Linked DNA regions of Homo sapiens: all the other regions are linked to region 2. The links are contacts of gene promoters, found by promoter capture Hi-C in blood cells and fetal thymus (Javierre and others, 2016). All regions are on one chromosome and are shown on one strand. The core of a region is centred on a gene start or on the middle of the fragment in contact, and the rest is flanking DNA. Distances in the headings are between cores, read along the strand shown.

Region 1 (3,188 bases), core at 686-3,185, 430 kb after region 2:
ATCCCCGCTGATGGGTATTTATCCAAAGGAAAGGGAATCCTGTGTGAAAGGGAATCTGGGCCCCCCTGTTTACTGCAGCACTGTTCACAATGGCAAAGATATGGAATCAACCTAGGTGCCTATCAATGGATGAATGGATACAGAACACGTGATATCTATTCGCGATGGAATACTCTGCAGCCATACACAAGAATGAAATCATGTCGTCTGCAACAACATGGATGGAATTGAAGGCTGTCATGTTAAGGGAAGTAAGCCGGGGTAGAAAGACAAATGTACCATGTTCTCACTCATTTGTGGGCACTGAAAGAGTGGCTCTCACAGAGGCAGAGAGTTGGCTGGTGGTTCCCAGAGGCTGGGCAGGGTGTGTGGGTGAGAGGCAGACAGAAAGTGAGGCTGGTTACGGGGCACAAACATGCAGTCAGGGGAAGGAGTAAGTTCCAATGTTCCATAGAACAGTTCACAGACCAAAGGCAACAATCATTTACTGTTTCCTTCCTTCCTTTCTTCCTTCCTTCCTTCCTTCCCTTCCTCCCTCCCTTCTTTCTTTCTCTCTCTCTCTTTCTCTCTTTCTTTTCCTTCTTTCTCTTTCTTTCTCTCTTTCTCTCTCTCTCTCTCTTTCTTTTTCTTTCTCTCTCTCTCTCTTTCTCTCTTTCTTACTTTCTTTATTTCTTTTTGACAGAGTCTCACTCCAGGCTGGAGTGCAGTGGAGGCATGATCTCGGCTCACTGCAACCTCCGCCTCCTGGGTTCAAACGATTCTCCTGTCAGCCTCCCGAGTAGCTGGGATTACAGGTGTGTGCCACCATGCCTGGCTAATTTTTGTGTTTTCAGTAGAGACAGGGTTTTGCCATGTTGGCCAGGCTGGTCTCGAACTCCTGACCTCAGGTGATCCACCTGCCTTGGCCTCCTAAAGCGCTGGGATTACAGGTGTGAGCCACTGCACCTGGTCCGCTGTATATTTCAAAATAGCTAGAAGAACTGGAATCTTCCCAACAGAAAGAAAGAGTAGATGTTCCAAGTGATGGATATACTACATACCCTGATTTGATCACTACATGCTGTGTGCACAATCAAAATATCACAACTGCCCTGTAAATATGTACAATTATTATGTATCAATAAACACTTTTCAAAAAATTTTAGATTTGATTACAAAGACATTAAACCCTGTGACACTTCAAAAAACACCATAACAAAACAAACAAAATCCAACAAAAACCGGAAGCACGCTGTGACGGTTTTGACATCTGATGTCCTCAGTGTCTAGAGGTCTTACGGGAAGAAGGAAGGCGCAATCGAATGAAGTTAGATGTGGAAATAGAATCACAACAACCCAGGAAGATGCAATTTGAGTTTTAACGATGAATTTAGCAATTTGCTTAAAAATAGTAATAGTCAATGTTGGCAAATATTCAGAGGAATATGCGTTTTCAGATACTAGTAGCAAAAGTATCAGCATAATTTTGTTCTGGAGAGGGGTTTGGTAATATGCACCAGAAGCCTTCCAATGTGGCTGACCTAGCAATGCTGCCTTTAGGGTGATAAACTGGCAAGTGGTCAAAATCCGCTCTGTGGCCTGTTGCTGCACGGCCAAGAGCTCGGAATGGTCCGTTACTGTGAAAACGATTAGCGAATAAGGAAGAGTGTGCGGTGGAGACCATCTTCCCCGTCCCCGCCCCCAGCACAATACTGACTCTCTAGCTGTCTGCAGAGCACGTTTGCAGACCCCTGATCTATGTGGAGGAGTAAACAAGTAAACAACAAAACGGTCCAGGTGTTCATTTTGCAGCATTTAGAAAATGTTGGTAAAAATAAAATAAAGAAATAAAGGGCCTAAATGTCCGTCTTTCCAACCTCATGGAAGTAGTTCAATCGATTCTGGCAAATGCAAATCCTGTCGTGTTCGGCAGCCGCTACAGGTAGACAGTGCTGCTGAAGAACTTCCAGTAACATGAGAAAACACTCATGAGAGGGTCGTGCTAAGTGAGAGCATTAAGTTATACAGACGACTTTATTCCAATTTTAATTTGAAGGTGTGTAAATAGAAAGAAATGGAAAGAAAGAAAATACTTGAACATCTTAATTACTGGGTGTTCATCCCGGGTGTGGGGAAGCAGGGGCTTCGGGTGAGGGTGGTGGGGGGTATGAGGAGTTTGGAGGTGGGTGGGAGGGGATCCCTAAAGTGACAGAGTCCTGGGAGCCCAGGGCTTGGAAGCTCACCACCTGGCAGTGCAGCCATGGGATCCAGACAGCTTCGCTGGACAGACGCACCGTGAGGGCTGGGGTGGGTCCTGGGGAGGGCAGGGCCAGAAAAGGGTGGGGCTGGGGAGAGTGGGGTCAGGGGAGGGCGGGGCTGGGGAGGGATGAGGCCTGGGGAGGGGTGAGGCCTGGGGAGGGTAGGGCCTGGGAAGAGTGGGGGATGGGGAGGGGTGAGGCCTGGGGAGGGTAGGGCCTGGGAAGAGTGGGGGATGGGGAGGGGTGAGGCCTGGGGAAGGTGGGGCTGGAAGAAGGTAGGGCTGGGGAGGGGTGGGGCTGGGGGAGGGATGAGGCCTGGGGAGGGGTGAGGCCTGGGGAAGGTGGGGCTGGGGAGGGGGGGGCCACAGAGGGCAGGGCAGGGGTAGGGCAAGGCTGGGGAGGGATGATGCCTGGGGAGGGGTGGCCTGGAGATGTCAGGGCTGGGGAGGGTAAGGCTGGGGAGGGATGAGGTCTGGGGAGGGGTGGGGCTGGGGGAGGACCGGCCTGTGGGGCAGGGCCTATGGGGGCATGGGGCCTGGGTCCTCGGGGCCTGGGACAGTGTCACTCTTCCCTTCCTTGGCTCATCCTGTGACCCGAAGAGCCTCTGCCAGGCCCTGGGCTCCTGCTGAGCTCCTGCTGAGAACAAGGCAGCCTGGTTTTTCTTTGATCTCCTGCCCCGAAGGTTGATGAGGGGATGGAGGGTCTGGAGCAATGGCCCAGACAGGGTGGAAGTTCCCTGGGGAAGAAGGGGGTGCCTGGAGTGGGTGGGTGGTCAGGGACCTTTCGAGAGGAGGGGTCTCAAGGTGAGGGCTCCTCAGGCCCCCGAATGTGGGGCAGGGTGGGTGCACAAGCAGAGGCTGTGGGGGAGGTGCTGGGCAAGGGAAGGGCAGGGCCCATTCTTAGGAGGAGCCTGAGAGTGGGACAAGAACAGATAAATTCTCAGGGAGAATG
Region 2 (3,297 bases), core at 734-3,233:
GCACCTTGGAGGACCGTGCAGCCCCCAGAAGCTTCCAGCTCCCGCACCACTCAGTGAAGCCCAGCCTGGCGCCTGCCCTGCCCCCGTCACGGGATGGGCCCCCATTGGGGTTCAACATTCCATCGCAGCCAAAGGCAGTCGGCACTTGGGACATCTGCTTCCACGGACAGGTCACCTCCGCTTTGCACGGAAGAATCTGGATGCTTACATTAAACTGGTGTTCTGAGAGTTCCTACGGACAGGTCACCTCCGCTTTGCATGGAAGAATCTGGATGCTTACATTAAACTGGTGTTCTGAGAGTTCCTACGGACAGGTCACCTCTGCTTTCCATAGAAGAATCTGGACGCTTACATTAAACTGATGTTCTGAGAATTCCTACAGGCAGGACTGAAAGCCTGGTGTGTGCCAGTATGATGTTCCACCCACAGAAACCTGGTCACAATCGTCCCTTCCAGCACCCCATCCAGCAGTGACTGCACACACTGAGTCCCCTACCAGCCCCTTTCACCCTGCTGACTGTCACTGGGCCCTGGGATGCGCAAGACTCCACAGCAGCAGAGGTGGGGGGACATATCACAGCCTCTGCCCCCGGCTGTGATGCCACCGAGGGGCTCGCCTGCTGATGGCTTCAACAGGGTCTCACCTCATCTTTTCCTGCTCTTTGGCCCTGGATCGAGAAAATTTCCATCAGTGCCCCATTAATATGCTGCCCTGTGGCATCTGCCCAGGAGGCCCTGCCAGGCGTGCACAGGTGTGCATTGGTGTACCCTGGCATGCACAGGTGTGCACTGATGTGCCCTGGCATCCATTGGTGTACCCTGGTGTGCCTGCCATAGGACCCTGGGCGGGAGCTCCCATCTCATCTACATCTCCTGATTCATGCGTTGTTTCATAGGTTTCAATGTCTCTGTAAATGTGGTAGAAATGCAGGCTTTATGGGCATAAAGTGTACATTTCTAAATAAATCCCTTCTATTGAGTATGCTCACCCTAGAAGTTACTGTTGTCCAGACGTAGAGGGATGAGTGAGCCAGTGACCTCAGACGGGATGGTGGGGACGGCAGGTCCAGCTCCTGCCTCCTCCTGGGGGGTCTGGCTTTGGGGGCTTGCTCCGAAGAGGCCATGGCCCAGGCCTGTGGCCTCACAATGGGGACCAACCAGCTCTTCTCATCTTCTTCCCTCACACTTCCTCTCACTCAAATAAGAACCTTCCAAAAATGTGTCCACCTGGGCCCCTGCCCTGGGACTCATGGATTTGGAGTTGTGGCCACACGGTTGAGGGGTGCAGTGTCCAGTGGAATGGGGCAATTGCGGGCCTGGGGGCCCTTGGCCTGTCCGTGGCGGGAGCATCTGCAAGGAGGAGCCCCAGAGTCCAGGGAGCACTGTGGGGAGCTCCTTAGAGCTGAACTCACCCGGCGTCAACTCATCAACCCTCCACCCATGGACAGGGGTGCCCCCAGCACAGGAGAGGACTCAGCCCTCTGCCCCCACGCACGGTGGGTGCCTGTCACCCTGTCCTGCCCAGCGGCCCGAGGGCAGCAGTGGGTGTGAGGGCAGCCCCCGGCCTCCCAAGAGCAGCTGAGAGGATCCCTGCGGGAATCCGGGCTTCGGGTGCATGCGATCTGATCTGAGTTGTTTCTGACAGTGACAGAGTGACAATCTATAAGTATCTCAAGATCAAATGGTTAAATAAAACATAAGAAATTTAAAACGATTAAAATATGCCTCAGTCTTGGGAATCCTGGTGTCTGCAACAAAAAAACTTGAGGCTGTCCTTGCAAACGGTCCTCATGGTGCTGGGGGTGGTGCCAGGCCCGGCGTTTGCCTGGAACACAGAGCATGCGAGAAGGAGCAGAGGACGTGGGTGCCAGGGAAGGACCCTGGCGTCAGAGCCAGGGCCTGGACCTGAGTTACCCATTAACGGCACTCCACTGGTTTTCCTTTAAAGAAATGAATAAATACAACTGCAGTGGGGCTGCTTGTGGTTTCCAAACGTCGGCAGAGGCTGGAGACGGCTCTCTAGTGCTGGGTGTGGAGTGAGGCACCACCCTTGCCCTGAAGCCTGGGGCACTCAGTCACCATGGCTCATGCCCCAGAACCGGACCCGGCCGCCTGCGACCTCGGGGATGAGAGGCCCAAGTGGGACAACAAGGCCCAGTACCTCCTGAGCTGCACTGGGTTTGCCGTGGGACTGGGGAACATTTGGCGGTTCCCATACCTGTGCCAGACCTATGGAGGAGGTAAGCACCCACCTGCGTCCTGGGGCAGACCCCTAAGCAGGGGAGGCCGTCTCCACCCTGACCTGCCAGGCGCCTGCCACGCATCCCCAGTGCTTGGGCAGAGTCACTCCTCCTGGAAACCAGGGTGCACCATTGCCCACGGCAGAGTCAGTCCCCTCAGGGCCCACCTGCAGTCTTCTGGGACCTCAGGGCAGCTTCACCACTGCCCACAGCACGGAGGATCCAGTCCCCTCGGGGTCCACTATGGTCTTCCGGGACCTCAGGGCAGCTTCCTGCCAGGCGTCAGGTTGAATGGGCCGCCCTGCCCGACACACACACCCTACAAACAGTGAGCGCTCTTCCATCTGAATGTCGTCAGTTCTTTAAAGAACACACAATCCGCTCTGGGTTTCCTCACCACAGCCTTGGTGTGTCCAGACATGTGCTCAGGTGCCCTTCTCCGAGGTTCTTTGCAGGAATTTGGGGGCCCACCCCTCGCCTCCCTGGCTTTGGTTCTCTGGGAGAGCCCTGTGGGGGGTGCCAGGATGTTCAGAACTGTCTGGGTGACTTTAGTGACCTTGGACTCACCACCCCCAGAAGTGCATTGGTGACTGAAATAGGCTCCCACGCACCTCGAGCCTCCCCTCACCCTGTGCCTGCTTCTCTTCATGCAGGGGTCACACTCTGCTCTCCATGTGGCGACACAGGATGTAGGGACAGGCATGAATCACTGCTCTCAGGGAGCCGACGTACAACATCACGCATGGACACCCAGGTCTTCCCCAGGCAACACGGGCAGGGGCTTCCCAGGCCGCAGGGTCCTCCTCAGGCCAGGCCGGGCTGCTTGGTCAGCCTGTTCCCCGGGCCCTCAGCTCCTTCCCTGAGAGCCCCGCACAACTATCCCTTGTTATAAGGTTACTCCTTTAAAGTGTTTTTCCTCCTGCTTAAGAAAAGATTCTCAACAGGCAGAAAATGCAGGAAATGCGCACAAATGGAAAAAACAAAAAGAAACACCCGTCACTGCCACCCTCGGGGCACTGGGGTCTCTTTGGGGCTTTGGGGCTGGAGAGGGTGCATT
Region 3 (3,126 bases), core at 438-2,937, 470 kb after region 2:
CATTTTCCTGTCTTCTGGCTTCCGTTATTTCTGCTGAGAAGTCCAGCAGTTGTTTGCATGTTGTTCTCCTGTGTATGATGTGTGCTTTTTCTTCAGCTGCTTTTAATGTTTCCTCTTACCTTTGACTTTCCTCATTTAGACCCTAATGTGCTTGGGATACTTTTCTTTCTGTCAATCCTGCTTTGGGTTCACTTGGGTTTCTTGATTCTTTTTTATTTATTTATTTATTTTTTTGAGATGGAGTCTCACTCTGTCGCCCAGGCTGGAGTGCAGTGGCGCAATCTCAGCTCACTGCAAGCTCCGCCTCCTGGGTTCATGCCATTCTTGGGCCTCAGTCTCCTGAGTAGCTGGGACTACGGGGGCCCGCCACCACGCCCAGCTAATTTTTTGTATTTTAAATAGACATGGGGTTTCACCGTGTTAGCCAGGATGGTCTCGATCTCCTGACCTTGTGATCCGCCCGCCTCGGCCTCCCAGAGTGCTGGGATTATAGGCGTGAGCCACCGCGCCCGGCCTCTTGATTCTTTAATCTCATGTCTTCTACTAAAGTGAGAAAATGTGTCCTCTACTTTTCAAAAATGTTTTTCTCCCCCATTTGTTCCTGTACACCTGTGACTCACATTTCACTATTAGACCCTTTGATGGTATCTCTCAGGTCTCTGAGACTGCATTGATGTCTTTCAGTTTTTTTCTTCTTCTCCCTAAGATTAGATGATTTCTGTTAATGTATCTTCCAAGTTTACTGGCTCCTGTATCATCCCTATTCTGCTGCTAAGTGTACATGTTGCATTTTCCATTTCAGATATTATATTTTTCAGTTATAGAATTTCATATAGTTCTTTTATATTTTATACATTTTAAGTAATTTATATTTGGTTCTCTTAATTTTTCTGATGACATTTACTATTTGTTCATTCATTTCAAATATTCATTCATTCTTTATGCCCTTGAGTGTTATTGTTATCATTTCTGCCTTAACATTCTTGTGTAGTAACTCCAACACCTGAGTTATCTTGGAGTTGGCCTCTGTCATTTGCCTTTACTCTTTTTTTTTCTTTGAGATGGAGTCTCACTCTGTGGCCCAGGCTGGACTGCAGTGGCGCAATCTCGGCTCACTGCAAGCTCCGCCTCCTGGGTTCACACCATTCTCCTGCCTCAGCCTCCCGAGTAGCTGGGACTACAGGCGCCCGCCACCACGCCCGGCTAATTTTTTGTATTTTTAGTAGAGACGGGGTTTCACTGTGTTAGCCAGGATGGTCTCAATCTCCTGACCTCGTGATCCGCCCGCCTCGGCCTCCCAAAGTGCTGGGATTACAGGCGTGAGCCACTGCGCCTGGCCCTGCCTTTACTCTTTATTGTGGGTCACATTTTTCTGGTTTTCCTTTTTTAGAAAAATATAATATCTACAAATTTTAGGGATTATAGCAGGATATTATTGTTAAACATTGTAAAAGCTTGATTCTTTTTGTTCTTTGGAATACTGTTGCTATTTTATCTGTTTTTAGAGGCAGTTAATTTGCCTGAATGTAAACTCCAAACACTTTCCTTATAATAATGGCAAACAGCTGAAATCTCTGCTTATTTCTTTCATTTTCAGTTTCTTTACATTTACTGTAATCACAGTTTCAGAGCTCAGCTGGAGATTTGGAAAGGTCTAACACACAGAACTCAGGTATCAATCTCTGTAGTTCTCTGTTTTTCAGAATTCATCCTGCCAAATTCCATCTGCTGAGGTCTCCACAATCTCTGTCCCTGATTCTTTGTGCCAGTAACACTATTTTCTATGAAAGTTTTATCTGTCTGGCATGGTGATGACTTTGACCTGACCCCAGTAAAGACTGAAAATTGGAAACTCACTCAGAACATCATCTTACAAATGTGGTGGGATTTTTTTTTCTTTACTTTTTAAAAACCAATATGGCAAGCTTGGTCATAATGAAGTTAGTCCTTTAAATTTACTTATATTCATAGTTGAATGGTCATTCTAAAATCTTATAATTTATTTTCTGTTTATTCCATGTGTCTTCTTTACTTTATTTATCCCCACTTTATTGGCACTATAGTTATATATTTTTTATTTCCCTATAGTTTATTATTTGCATAGTTGAAGTATAAAAACCTACCTTAGGCCAGGCACAGTGGCTGACGCCTGTAATTCCAGCACTTTGGGAGGCAAAGGCAGGAGGATTGCCTGAGCCCAGGAATTTGAGAGCAGCCTGGGCAACAAAGTAAGACCCTGTTCTCTACAAAAGATGTTAAGAAAAATAAGCCAAGCATAGTGGTGGGCACCTGTAGTCCCAGCTACTCAGACGACTGAGAAGGAGAATCACCTGAGCCTGGGAGGTTTTGGCTGCAGTGAGCCATGATTGTGCCACTGCACTGCAGCCTGGGTGACAGAGCGAGACCCTGTGGGGGGAAAAAAAACAAAAAACAAAACAAAACAAAACACCTACCTGAAACGAATACTTTTATCACTTCCCAAGCAGTTGAAGGATCTTATGAGTGGTCTGTCGTGCCCCCGCTCGCATTTCCTTTAATGCCATTGTAGTCATATATTTTACTTCTGTGTTCGTTGCAAACACCAGAAGATCACTTTAAACAATCCATACACTCACACTGCCCCTAACAGTTATCCTTTGTGGTGCTCTTCATTCCTTTCATCCTTTCCCCCATGAACATTTTCCTTGAGCTGAAAAATGTGGCTTTAGTATGCCTTGTAAGGCAAGTATGTTGCAGATAAATTTTCTCAACTTTTTAAATAACCACATCTTTATTCCACCTGCATGATTTAAAGCAGCAGTCCCCAACATTTTTTGGCACCAGAGATTACTTTTAATGGCAAAAACCGCAATTACTTTTGAACCAACCTAGTAATTATTACATTGTATTATATACTGAAATAATTATACAGCTCACTATCACGTATAATCAGTGGGAGCCCTGAGCTTGTTTTCCTGCAACTCGATGGTCCCATCTGGGAGTGATGGAGACAGTCACCCCCAAAGTGTGTTGCTTATGTCCGGTGTACTCTGTAATCTCGTTTTGGTTGCTGTCACTGCAGAAAACTCTGCTTCACAAAGACAGGATGTTGGGCATGGAAGCAGGTTTTTCAGTGCGTTTGTGGCA
Region 4 (3,234 bases), core at 388-2,887, 320 kb before region 2:
AGTCAAATCCCATGTAAGTTGCTGTGCCTTTTCCCAGAATGCCCTGTTATTTGAAGAGGAACCATTACTGTTTTGCTCTCCAACACCCCTGAGCAACTTGATGCAGATGGGTTTTTGGGAGCCCCTGTCTGCTGGCAGCCCTTGTCCTGGACATCTATCCTCTAGTATTGCTCCAGAGTAGAGCTGGTCTCTGAGGAGCTCCCTGAGGGAGAAGAGGGAAAGGGAGAACGTGAAGGCAACTTAGAGAATTAAACCCTCTGGAGATGGGAGGAGGGAAGGTGAGCAAGCCTGGTCCGCACAAAGGAAAGGCCGGTGTGTCTTAACCCCTGCACCCTCTTCAACGGGAAGGGTCTTTCCCATGCCAGCAGCTGGCTAGAAGACTATCACTCAGCTGTCCTCTGCATTGATAGTCTGAGACTATCACTCAGACTGCTCCTCTGCATTGTGGCTGTTGTTATTTTGCGAATAATAACTGCTGTATCATTCTAGGGAAGGAGCTTACTCATTACTTGATAAACAAACCCCTTAGTGGTTTTGTTTAATGTTGGCACTTTAAATAAAAGTGATCATTTTGTTGCTCTTCTTATATTTATAATAGTAATAGCCAGTGTTTTTCCTTTTCCCTTTTGGAAGCACCTTCTCTTCTGAAATGAAAGCGTTTGGAGGTGATGATCTCTTAGGAGGCGGCCTCGCTCCCTGTGCTCCCTCTTCTCATGTAGGATTAAGCCCTGGGGGAGGGCACATTTCTTGGGGACCTTTGCCTTGTTGGTATCTTTGTCAAGCTCTTTTCTTTTTCTCTATCAGCTCCTCGATTATGTGATGACAACTTTACTGTTTTCAGACAAGAACGTCAACAGCAACCTCATCACCTGGAACCGGGTGGTGCTGCTCCACGGTAAATTATGCAGGCTTTTATTTGACCAGATAAGTGGCATGAAATTTAGCCTTTACTTGTACCTTCGTCCTTCTGCAAGGAGTTACGGCTCTTTGTTTTCTGAAGGAGCCACAGCTGTCCTAGAATGTCCCCTCTCTGTGAAGCAGATCCAGCTCATGACACTTGGGACATTTTTTGTTTGTTTGTTTGTTTTTGTTTTTGAGACAGAGTCTCGCTGTCGACCAGGCTGGAGTGCAGTGGCCCGATCTCGGCTCACTGCAACCTCCACTTCCTGGGTTCCTCCCAGGTTCCAGCAACTCTCCTACCTCAGCCTCCCGAGTAGCTGGGATTACAGGCATGCGCCACCACACCCAGCTAAGTTTTGTATTTTTAGTAGAGACGGGGTTTCACCACGTTGACCAGGCTGGTCTCAAACTCCTGACCTCAGGTGATCCGCCCGCCTCAGCCTCCCAAAGTGCTGGGATTACAGGCTTGAGCCACCGCGCGCGGCCCCTGGGGCATTGATTACTCGGCACTTAATCAAGTCTTCCTGTGGGGGGCCACATTCCAAGACATCCTCAGATGCCCCAAACGTGGATAATACTAAACCTTATGTAGACTATTTTTTCCTACAGACATTCCTATGATAAAGCTTAACTTATAAATTAGGCTTGTAGTACTCAGAGCTTTACTTTGTGAGGAGTAAACTGAAAAAGCCATATTTTAAAGAAATTCTGTCTGGTTCTTCTCAGGAGAAAATACTGATGGTTTGTTGTTTGGTTTTGTTTTGTTTTGTTGTCAATATCACCGGGTAGAATGGGGACACGGGAATTGAGTGGACTCGAGAGTATGAAACTGTAGCCAAGTGTTAAATAGAAGCTTGAAGGGTACTTGGCTTCTTTAAGTCAGTTAAGATTGCGTGACAAAGTGACCTTAAAACACAATGTTCTTTTAAAGAGCAGACAGGCCCCGCATACTGCCCTCATAGCACAGTCAGAGTAAGCAGCAGGTGTTTTAATTAGTGAAATAAGTTGTTTCTGTTTGGAACCAGTTACGTATTTCCTCTTTAATTCTTGAAAATACCTGCAGAAAATTAGAGTTGTATGTCTCCATTTTCTGTTAGATGCTTTCCTTTTTCCATATTGGTCACCTCGCAGCTTCTGTGAGGCATCTTTTGTAGGGTCCAGCCCCACAGGGTTGGTGAGTTTTCTCCCCATGTGCAAAGACGAGAGAGTGTAGAAATAAAGACACAAGACAAAGAGATAAAAGACAGCTGGGCCTGGGGGACCACTACCACCAAGACGCGGAGACCGGTAGTGGCCCCGAATGCCAGGCTGCGCTGATATATATTGGATACAAGACAAAGGGGCAGGGTAAGGAGTGTGAGCCATCTCCACTGATAGGTAAGGTCACGTGGGTCACGTGTCCACTGGACAGGGGACCCTTCCCTGCCTGGCAGCTGAGGCAGAGAGAGAGAAGAGAAACAGAGAGACGGCTTACACCATTATTTCTGCATATCAGAGACTTTTAGTACTTTCACTAATTTGCTACTGCTAGCTAAAAGGCAGAGCCAGGTGTACAGGATGGAACATGAAGGCGGACTAGGAGCATGACCACTGAAGCACAGCATCACAGGGAGACAGGCCTCTGGATGACTGCGGGCGGGTCTGACTAATGTCAGGCCCTCCACAAGAGGTGGAGGGGTAGAGTCTTCTCTAAACTCCCCGGGGGAAAGGGAGACTCCCTTTCCCGGTCTGCTAAGTAGCAGGTGTTTTTCCTTGACACTGACGCTACCATTAGACCACGGTCAGCTTGGCAGCGGGCTTCTTCCCAGACGCTGGCATTACTGCTAGACCAAGGAGCCCTCTGGTGGCCCTGTCCAGGCATAACAGAAGGCTCGCACTCTTGTCTTCTAGTCACTTCTCACTATGTCCCCTCAGCTCCTATCTCTGTATGGCCTGGTTTTTCCTAGGTTATGATTGTAGAGCAAGGATTATTATAATATTGGAATAAAGAGTAATTGCTACAAATTAATGATTAATATTCATATATAATCATATCTAAGATCTATATCTAGTATAATTATTCTTATTTTATTTATTTTATTATACTGGAACAGCTCGTGCCCTCGGTCTCTTGCCTCGGCACCTGGGTGGCTTGCCGCCCACATCATGCTAGGGGACGCTTGGCAGGCAGGCGTGCAAGAAGAGTGCTGGCCTCTGCCTCTTCTAGTATGGGGTATGAGCCCACTGAGAATTGTCTTAGGAAAGAGGGTGGTTCTGGGGGCAACAGGAATAACACATGACCCCTCCACCTCCATTTATCAAGAAAGGTGTGTTTGATCTCTGAAAGGTGCCTTG
Region 5 (2,984 bases), core at 243-2,742, 510 kb after region 2:
CTCACCACCCTCCCCTCCCCACCCCCCATGGCCTTGACTCCCACTCTGCCCTCCCTTCTCCACCCTCACGGCCTTGACCCATGGTGGGGCCACCCTCTCCTTCCCACCTCCCAGGTCCCTGACCCCCACCCGCTTGCCCTCTCCTCCCTGACCCCCAGGGCCCTGGATCCCACCCTCTCGCCCTCACCTCCCTTACCCTCACTGCCGCCCTCTTAGCCATCTCCTCCCTGCCCTCAGGGGCCCCTCAGCAGCCTGCCCGGTCCGCCCAGCATAGCCACCATCCCTTCTGCTCAGGAAGTCTCACCCAAGGCACTCTCTGCAGAGGGCCCCTGCGCCCCTGGAGTGACCCCTCCCCACTCTCCACCACTTCCAAGCCTCAGGCATCACTGCTGGGGGAGCCTCAGGCTCTCCTGGGACTGAGCTCCCTCATCTTCCTCCTCCCACTAGGACCTGGTTGGGGAATTCCACAGATGTGCCCTCCATGAATGGGGCTTCCTGAGGACCAGGGTGTTACTGCAGAGGGTGTGGCGTGTGGGGTGGATTAGCAGGATTTGACCCTGTGTTGGGGGCATGGCTGAGACATGGAGCTCTCACCAAGCCATGCGTTCCTGAGAGATGATTTTTTTTTTTTTTTTTTTGAGATGGAGTCTTGCTCTGTTGCCAGGCTGGAGTGCAGTGGCGCGATCTCAGCTCACTGCAACCTCTGCCTCCTGGGTTCAAGCGATCCTCCTGCCTCAGCCTCCCGAGTAGCTCGGACTACAGGCACACACTGCCACACCTGGTTAATTTTTTGTATTTTAGTAGAGACAGGATTTCACCGTGTTGCTGAGGCTAGTCGTGAACTCCTGAGCTCAGGCGATCCGCCCACCTTGGCCTCCCAAAGTGCTGGAATTACAGGTGTGAGCCACCGTGCCTGGCCGAGACGATGCTCTTAACCATGGCTGGGAGGCCCTGCCGCCATCTGCTGTCCTGGCTGCGGGGCAGGCAGGGACCCCAGGAGTGTGGGCAAGAGAAGGGTGTGGGCTGGGGCTGGTGTGATGGGGTGGGGCCCAGGAGGTGCTGCCAGAGGGTTGGGGTGAGCCCTGTCATTAGCCAGGGACAGTCCCTCTGGGGTGGGGACTCGGGGGCGGGGGTTCCTGGAGGTTCATCATTCCCATAATCAGGAGGTGGCAGAGCCCTGGCTTTGGGGGTTTGTCCGGACCTGCTGGCCTCCTTCAACAGGCAAGAGACCTGTCTGGGGCCGGCTGGGCTGCCTGGCCCTCACCCGAAAGGGATACAGTCCTTGCAAGCCCCCATCTGCAAACCTGCAGCCAGAGGCTGGCCACAACGCCCTGTGGTTCTGGTGGGGGCGGGGGAAGGGAAAGGGCCCAGCTCTCAGGGTTCCCCGTCATGCCGTGCCAGGTCTTGCTGACTCAGGGACTGTGCTGGCCGTGGCATCAGGGAGAAAGGTTGCAGCCGGCAGGGATGAGTGAGGTGGGTGGATGGGGACCCTGCCCTGGGTGTCATGAGCACCTGCGTCCAGCGAAGCTCAGCAGACATGGGACCCGATCGGGATCCTCGGGCTGAAGCTCTAGCTGTGGGCTGGGCCCTCTCAGGCAAACCCGTTCAGACAACTGCAGTCTTAAACTCAATTTAATAGCAAAGGGAGGGAAATCCATCCCGGGGGAGGCTCAGCCCTGCAGCCCCAAGAGGCTGGCGATGTGATGTTTGCTGTGGGAGTGCAGATTCCCAGCCTGTGATTAACTCCAGAGGATGCGCCCGCATCCCGTCCTTGATAAGAGGATCCCACAGCCAGGGAGTCCTGCACAAAGACACCAGCAGGAAGGCACCGGCAGCTCTTAGAGATGGGGGGCCCAGGGAGGGACAGGAAGAAGCTGGTCCCATGCTGCCCACGTTGTGACGTTTACCAGGGCATCCTCCAGCCTAACAGCTCTAAGGTTTGGTTCACCATATAAGCAGCTGGCAGGCTGAGCACAACCTTCCTTAGCCCTGCACTCCTGTGTGTTTGGGCAGGTGGGCTCATAGGTGCCGGAGATGTTTCGGGCAGCATGCTGCGCGTTACACTCACCCTGGCACTGGGGAGTCGGAGCTGAGCCAGGCGGAGAGCATCCATACAGGGAGGCACAGAACAAGGCAGCAGCGCAGTGCCCGCCGTTCACTCCTGCCTAACAGATGTCCCCAGGGGCAGCACCTTCAGATGGCAGATGGCAGCCATGTCCTTAGCTCACAACTCTGTGGTCAGCAGCAGGGGTGCCTGGGCTCAACAGGGAGTTCTGCCCACCTCCCCATGACCATGTGACCATGTGGCTGTGGCTGAGTTCTCTGTGGGTTGGAACCTGGGCTGGAACAAGCAGCTGATGTGGCTGGTCCAAGGTCTCACCCCCAGGCAGTCTCATCCACTCATTCTGGTGGCTTCTGGGGAGGGCTCCAGGACAAGGGGCAGCAATTCCAAGGCCCCCTGAGGCCAGGCTCTGCCCTGACATGAAGTCCCTCCCAGGGTGCTCCATTGGTCAAAGCAAGGGCAAAACCAGCTGTGATGCAAGGATTGCTATGCAAAGATAAGTACATCCATGCAGCATTTAGGACATACTTAAAGCACTACATGATTTGTTGTTTATCTGAATTTCACATTTAAGCTGGAGTCCTGTCTTTTGTCATTGTTCTTGTCGGTGTGTTTCTGCTATGCCTGGCAACCCTATTCAAATCACGATTGATCAGAGACAAAGGCTTGGTGCATGGAGAGCTTTTCTCTGAGTCCTGGTCAGCCTTGCCATGGAATACTTACCCTGGGATGAGGCTGTGTAGAGGGGGATACACCAGGCTTCCTTGGGAACATATAGCTGACATCTTAAAACCACTTTTAAGAAGGTCAGGGTCCTGATAGACAACTCTGGAGCTGGTGGGTATGAAGGAGGGGTGAGCAGCCCTGCAGCCACCCGGCTTCCCCCAGTCTCCTTGTCATGAGCTGCGGTCAATGCACAGTT
Region 6 (2,911 bases), core at 261-2,760, 450 kb after region 2:
CTAATTCCACCACCTTTGCTATTTCTGTTGACAAAGAAATGTTGCTAAGGTGGGACAAGGAACAACTATCAGAGGTGGCACAGGGCTGGGACAAATTCAAGTTCTGACCAGGCAGGGTAGAAATACTTTGTTGAATGCCTAGGACTTTTAGTAAAGATCCCAGAAAAGGCATACCTTAGTATCAGGGCCAAACCAGATCTAGGGTGAAGGCTAATCTATCTCCAACTCTATAAAGCCTAAATCAACCTTCAAAGAAAGCACCTGGACCACGAGGAAATTCACTTCCTTCTGGGGGAAATGTCCTCAACGTGTACTAAAGGAAGGCAGTGAGATGCAGCCACTCAGCAGCGTAATAGTCACAATGCACATCACCCGATAAAAATTATTAGGCATGCAAAAGATCAGGGAAACTTGACCCAGTCCATGGAGAAAAAGATCCAGAAATGACAAAGATGATTAAAATAGCAGATAAGAAATTGAAAATAGCAGTTAGAAATAGGTCCAAGAGGCTGGGCGCGGTGCCTCATGCCTGTAATCCCAACACTTTGGGAGGCCGAGGTGGGCAATCACCTGAGGTTGGGAGTTCGAGACCAGCCTGACCAACATGGAGAAACCCTGTCTCTACTAAAAATACAAAATTACCCAGGCATGGTGGTGCATGCCTATAATCCCGGCTATTCAGGAGGCTGAGGCAGGAGGATCACTTAAACCTGGGAGGCAGAGGTTGTGGTGAGCCGAGATTGTGCCATTGCACTCCAGCCTGGACAACAAGAGCGAAACTCTGTCTCAAAAATAAAATAGAAGTAGATCCAAGAACTTAAGGAAAATTGCACATAATGAACAGGAAAAAAACTATATGAAGAAATAGTATTACAGAGATGAAAAACAAAATACTATTTCTTTACAATAAGTATAAATAATACTAATATAAATATAAAGAAATAATATTACAGAGGTGAAAAACAAATACAGATGCCACTTCATTGTAAGTTGAAAATATTGTAAATAAAAAATGCAGTAAATACACCTAACCACCAAATATAATAGCTTAGCCTAGCCTACCTTAAATGTGTTCAGAGCACTTACATTAGCCTAAAATCATCTAGCACAAAGCCTAGTTTATAATAAAGTCTTGAATATCTCATGTAATTTATTGAATACTGTACTAAAAGCCAAAAAAGAGAAGGGTTGCTTAAGCACTCAAAGTCCGGTTTCTACTGATTATATACCATTTTTACACCATCGTAATGTTCAAAAATCAAGTTAAACCACCATGAGTTAGAGACCTTCTATATGAAATAAAAAGTTACCTAATGGGCTTAAGAGCAGACTAGAAACTGCAGAAGAAACATGAACTTGAAGACTGATCAATAGAAATCATCCAAACAGAAGGAACAAAACTTTTTTAAAAGGCTGAAAAAAGATCAGATTTTCTTTGGCTTGTGGGCTAATATCAAGAGGCCTAACGTGTGTAGTGAGAATACAAGAAAAAGGGAGAGAGCAGAAAATATTTGAAGAAATAATGCCTGAAATTTCTCTGGATTTGGAGAAGATATATACCCATGGATAAAGAAACTCAAAGAACAAAGAAAATCACACCAAGGCCCATTTTAATCAAATTACTGACAATGAATTATAAAAATAATAATCTTAGAGGTAGTCCAGGGTAGGCAAACATATTACATACAGAATAACAAAGACAGAAATAATGACTGACTTCCCATCAAAAACAATGTAAGACAGAAGACAATGGAATTCCAACCTGAAATGCTGATTTAAAAAAATGTTTTTAATTGATGCATGATATTAATACCTGTTTATGGGGCATGTGCTATTTTGATGCATGCATAGAATATGTAATGATCAAGTCAGGGTTCAGAATATCCATCACGTCAAACATTTATCATTTCTTTGAATTGGGAACATTTTAAATCTTCTCTTCTAGCTATTTTGAAAAATGCAACATATTGTGTTAACTATAGTCACCCCACTGTGCTATCAGACACTAGAACTTATTTCTTCTGACTGTGTGTTTTTGTGCTCATTAACCTCCCACTCTTCATTCACCCTGCCAATCTTTCCCAGCCTTGGTGACTATCATTCCGCTGTCAATCTCCATGAGAGCCACTGTTTCAGCTCCCACATATGGGTGAGAACATGTAATATTCCTTTCTGTCTGGCTTATTTCACTAAACACAGTGACCTCCAGTTCTATCCATGTTGCCATGAATGGCAGGATTTCATTTTTTATGGTGGAATAGTATTCCATTGTGTGTATATACCACCTTTTCTTTATCCATTCATCTGCTAATAGATACTTGGTGTAATTCCATATCTTTGCTATTGTGAATAGTGTTGCTGCTGCAGTAAACATAGGGGTGCAGATATCCCTTTCATATACTGATTTTCTTTCCTTTGGATAAATACCCAGTAGTAGGGTGGCTGCACTAATTTACATTCTTATCAACAGTGTGTGAGTTCCCTTTTCTCAACATCCTCACCAGCATTTGCTATCTTTTGTCTTTTTTTTTTTTCTTTTTTGAGACAGGGTCTCACTCTGTTGCCCAGGCTGAAATGCAGTGGCATGATCTTGGCTCACTGCAACCTCCACCTCCCGGATTCAAGCGATTCTCTTGCTTCAGCCTCCTGAGTAGCTGGGATTACAGGAGTGTGTCACCAAGCCCAGCTAATTTTTGTATTTTTAGTAAAGACAGTGTTTCACCATGTTGGTCAGGCTGGTCTCAAACTACTGACCTCATGTGATCTGCTCACCTCAGCCTCCCAAAGTGCTGGGATTACAGGCATGAGCCACCATGCGCAGTCATCTTTTGTCTTTTTGATAATAACCATTCTAACGGGGATACAATGATATCTCATGGTGGTTTTGGTGTGCATTTCCCTGATGATTAGT
Region 7 (3,074 bases), core at 563-3,062, 330 kb after region 2:
CCATTGATGGGGGAAGTGGGGTCCTGCAAGGCTCTGGTGGGCCTGCAAGCTGGGCCTGCTGAGCCACAGGGGCTATTCTGATCACCTCCTTCCTCTCTACCCTATTGGTGAGGGGGACCCGCTGCCCTCAATGGCACCAGATGCCTGAGTGCCCAGCACCCAACCCTGGACAGCTGAGAGTGACAGCAGGCCACGGTCACAGGTGCTGATGTGCGGGTGGAAGGCGGCCCACTCCACTCGGGGACAGGGTGGGCTCTCAGGGGCTGCATGGCTTTGCAGTGGCCGCCCACAGGGTGAGGGGACCCTGGCTCTGTGGGGCTTGGGGCAGGGTGTTGGGAGAATCCTGTGGGCTGGCAGGGATCTGAAGCCCAGCGGGCTGAGGACCAGATGGGTGCTGCTGGTCCCGCTGGTGGAGGAACTGGCAGGGTGGGGAGCCTTTCCCCCTGGGGGACACATCCTATGAGGACAGCGGCTCCCAGGAGGCCTCCAGAGGCTGGGAGGCCTTTCAACGCGAGGATCTTACTGGCCACAGGTGCTGCTCAAACGAACGCTCCGAAAGTCTCAGCAGGTGAGAGCGCAAGTCTCAGTGCCGGAAACTGCTGTGCTGGGGGTGAGGAGGGGTGGACCCAAGGGCAGCCAAGGGCTTTGTGGGGGCACCTGGGGCCCAGGGCACAGGAAGAGCCATGCCCCACATCCAGTGCCCCCAGGTGTAACCCTGCTCCTCATGGCCCAAGAGGTTTTACGTGTGGATGGGTTTTAATTGGGTGTCTGGAAGCAGGTAAAGTTGTGTCTGAGCTTGGTAATGAGAGGCAGGGTAAAAGGGAGGGACATCTTGGAGGTGACATGCCTGATGCAAGGTCTTTACCAAACAGAAACTCCACAGGCCTGACCACACCTGACCAGGGCACAGGGCAGCCGAGGGCAAGGGACAGGTCCTGGTTTGGGGCCACTGCATGTCCTTGATCAAGGCATTGGGTGTTCAGCACCTCATCTTCCTTCTCTGCAAGGTGAGCGGCTTGGTCCCCCAAAACTCCAGTGCATTTATGAATTTTAACTGTTCTACAAGGCTACGGCCAACATGGGTGCCTCCGAGGCTCAGCCTGAAGGCAACATGTGGGGAGCCTGGTGGAAACCAGCCGTGTGGCCGAGGGCAGGCGCGTGCCGGGAAGTGCCCCTGTGCTGCGCTCATTAAGTTGTGATGGTGGCTTGTTAGCAGCTTGTTTTACTTCAAGATACTTCACTACATAAAGATTTTCAATTATGAGACAGATTGAATTGAAAACTGACTTTTCTAAAAACAAGGATTATTCCACATTGCAGAAATGATCCTCAGCTTCAAAGCTTTGTTTTTTAATGAGTGCACCCTTTAGGCATTTGGCACGTCTGGGATCCAAACCCTTGTGTTCATCCTGTGGACTCTGCAAAACGCACAGTGCCTCATGTCTCTTTCTGAACCTGGTCTGGTGTGAGCAGTGAGGAGGGAGTGTCTCAGGCTCCCATGGGGCTGAGGATGGGCTCCACGATGTCCCTCAGCCCACAGAGACAGAGACACACCCAGAACCTCCAAGCCACGGGTCTTGTCTGCAGCTGGGCCAGGTGGACTGCACCTGCCAAGGGAGCCTCCAGGGTGGGTGCTGGCTGGCCGGGCGCCCTCCTCACACACGAGGGCGGGCCAACTTGAGTGGAGCCGTGTCTGCATGCAATGCTGTCTCTGCCCCCAGCAGCTGAATGCCACCTGCTGAGCTAATATTTGCTGAACCATCGAGTCATGGATTCCTTCCTGACAACGTTGCTTAAGTGTTTATCCGAGCAAGAGCTTGGGTCAAGGTTGCCCTCGTCTCCCTGCCTCCCTCTGCAAACACCATTCAACTGCCAGCAGTGCCCTTGATGTCCCGTGTCCAGCTCCTCTGAGTGTGGTTTCCTGGCTCATAGTTGCCCAATGTACGGCATTCCTTGTGGTGAACCACAGGGCTGGCCCAGGATTCTTAGATGTCGGAGGAGGCGAAGATGCCACGTCCAGCAGAAAGAGCTGCACAGTGGCGGCCGCGCGTCAGAACGGCAGCTGTGGGGTGGCTGTGGAGCGGGGCGCCGGCGGTGGGTTGTTTACCACGAGCTCTACAACCAGTGGCTGTGTCTGTGTTTTTTCTCTTTAATGGAATGAAGCAAACGCAGGAGTGCCATGTCCCTGCAAGGACACAGTAGGGGTCTGGGTGATTTAGGGCCCTGGTGAATTCACACCCTCCAGGACATGAAGCCCTGTTTTCTGCACCATTTTACTGATGAGAAGCTTGAGGCTGAGAGAGGCCACTGGAGCAATCTGAGGGGAGGCCAGATCAATGCTGAGCCCTGCGGGCCTCACCTTGCAGGCCACAGCCTCCCTTATCATCTCTCCAACCCCAGCCGAGGCCCTAGGTCCACCCCATGTCCGGGTCATGATCCAGGAAGGGGTCAGTGCTGATCTAGAGCCTGGCGACAGAGCCCCTGGCCCGAGGCCTCCAGGAAGGAGTGTATCTCCAGCTTGCTGCCCATTGGCTGAGGACAGCGGGCTGGGGCATGAATCCCACGTGCGCGCAAGTGCCATTTTGCTCTGTGCTCCATGAACACAGGTGCCCCGAGCGCCTCCTGAGTGCCATGTGCAGAGTGGGCGGTGCCAGATGGGGCCCACCGTTGTCCACAGGGCTTGTGGAGGTGCTGCCGTGCCTCCCAGATGCCCTGTCTGGGCCTGTACCCCTTTGCCGAGTTGAGGAGGCTGTGTACCTCTTTGGGAGATGCCTGGGAGGTCACGAGCACAGACTGTGGGTGGCCCAGAGCCAATGACTGACAGTGGCGGGTGCCATGGCCACCCTGGCCTCCCCAGGGCCAGCAGTGGGGTGCGGGTCACTGGCTGACAGGGACCCCCTCCTGACGCCTGGTCCTGCCCTATCCTGCTCGCCTCGCCCCTTACCCTCAGGTTTCTCCTGCAGGAATCCCCATGGGAGTGCTGGCTGCTGAGGGACGGAGCTTCCCTCCTGGTGGGGCTACAGGGTGAGGAGGGCTTCGCATGGCGGCGGCGGCAGAGGGAACGGTGCTGTGAA

The links. Contacts are between HindIII fragments. The CHiCAGO score rates a contact against its expected background, and 5 or more counts as called.
Region 1: a fragment that was not itself captured here is called in contact with the fragment with the promoter of SLC6A18 in region 2 in 14 of 17 cell types (M1 macrophages, M0 macrophages, non-activated CD4 T cells and 11 more); the score reaches 9.5 in M1 macrophages.
Region 3: a fragment that was not itself captured here is called in contact with the fragment with the promoter of SLC6A18 in region 2 in 1 of 17 cell types (monocytes); the score reaches 6.7 in monocytes.
Region 4: a fragment that was not itself captured here is called in contact with the fragment with the promoter of SLC6A18 in region 2 in 2 of 17 cell types (M1 macrophages and erythroblasts); the score reaches 5.6 in M1 macrophages.
Region 5: a contact is called between a fragment that was not itself captured here and the fragment with the promoter of SLC6A18 in region 2, in 1 of 17 cell types (monocytes). The highest score is 5.9, in monocytes.
Region 6: a fragment that was not itself captured here is called in contact with the fragment with the promoter of SLC6A18 in region 2 in 2 of 17 cell types (monocytes and naive B cells); the score reaches 7.7 in monocytes.
Region 7: a contact is called between a fragment that was not itself captured here and the fragment with the promoter of SLC6A18 in region 2, in 1 of 17 cell types (total CD8 T cells). The highest score is 5.3, in total CD8 T cells.

Annotation. Positions count from the first base shown.
Region 1 is chr5:1,649,195-1,652,382 of GRCh38, forward strand. No RefSeq gene overlaps it. Among named protein-coding and RNA genes, the nearest start is that of MIR4277, 58 kb to the right of the region's middle. The HindIII fragment of the contact is 4,657 bases long and covers 1-3,188 here.
Region 2 is chr5:1,223,398-1,226,694 of GRCh38, forward strand. SLC6A18 (solute carrier family 6 member 18) reads left to right here and starts at 1,984. Exons shown (of 12, transcript NM_182632.3): 1 at 1,984-2,240. The coding sequence starts at 2,081. SLC6A19 (solute carrier family 6 member 19) reads left to right here. Exons shown (of 12, transcript NM_001003841.3): 12 at 1-1,714. RefSeq lists an enhancer at 2,378-2,920. The HindIII fragment of the contact is 4,471 bases long and covers 30-3,297 here.
Region 3 is chr5:1,694,277-1,697,402 of GRCh38, forward strand. No RefSeq gene overlaps it. Among named protein-coding and RNA genes, the nearest start is that of MIR4277, 13 kb to the right of the region's middle. The HindIII fragment of the contact is 471 bases long and covers 1,453-1,923 here.
Region 4 is chr5:900,537-903,770 of GRCh38, forward strand. TRIP13 (thyroid hormone receptor interactor 13) reads left to right here. Exons shown (of 13, transcript NM_004237.4): 4 at 1-13; 5 at 805-895. Among named protein-coding and RNA genes, the nearest start is that of TRIP13, 9.3 kb to the left of the region's middle. RefSeq lists a silencer at 2,558-2,852. The HindIII fragment of the contact is 227 bases long and covers 1,525-1,751 here.
Region 5 is chr5:1,733,329-1,736,312 of GRCh38, forward strand. No RefSeq gene overlaps it. Among named protein-coding and RNA genes, the nearest start is that of MIR4277, 26 kb to the left of the region's middle. The HindIII fragment of the contact is 7,363 bases long and covers 1-2,984 here.
Region 6 is chr5:1,675,081-1,677,991 of GRCh38, forward strand. No RefSeq gene overlaps it. Among named protein-coding and RNA genes, the nearest start is that of MIR4277, 32 kb to the right of the region's middle. The HindIII fragment of the contact is 3,271 bases long and covers 1-2,911 here.
Region 7 is chr5:1,553,683-1,556,756 of GRCh38, forward strand. LOC107986397 (a long non-coding RNA gene) reads left to right here. Exons shown (of 2, transcript XR_007059102.1): 2 at 1-2,273. Among named protein-coding and RNA genes, the nearest start is that of LPCAT1, 31 kb to the left of the region's middle. The HindIII fragment of the contact is 946 bases long and covers 1,340-2,285 here.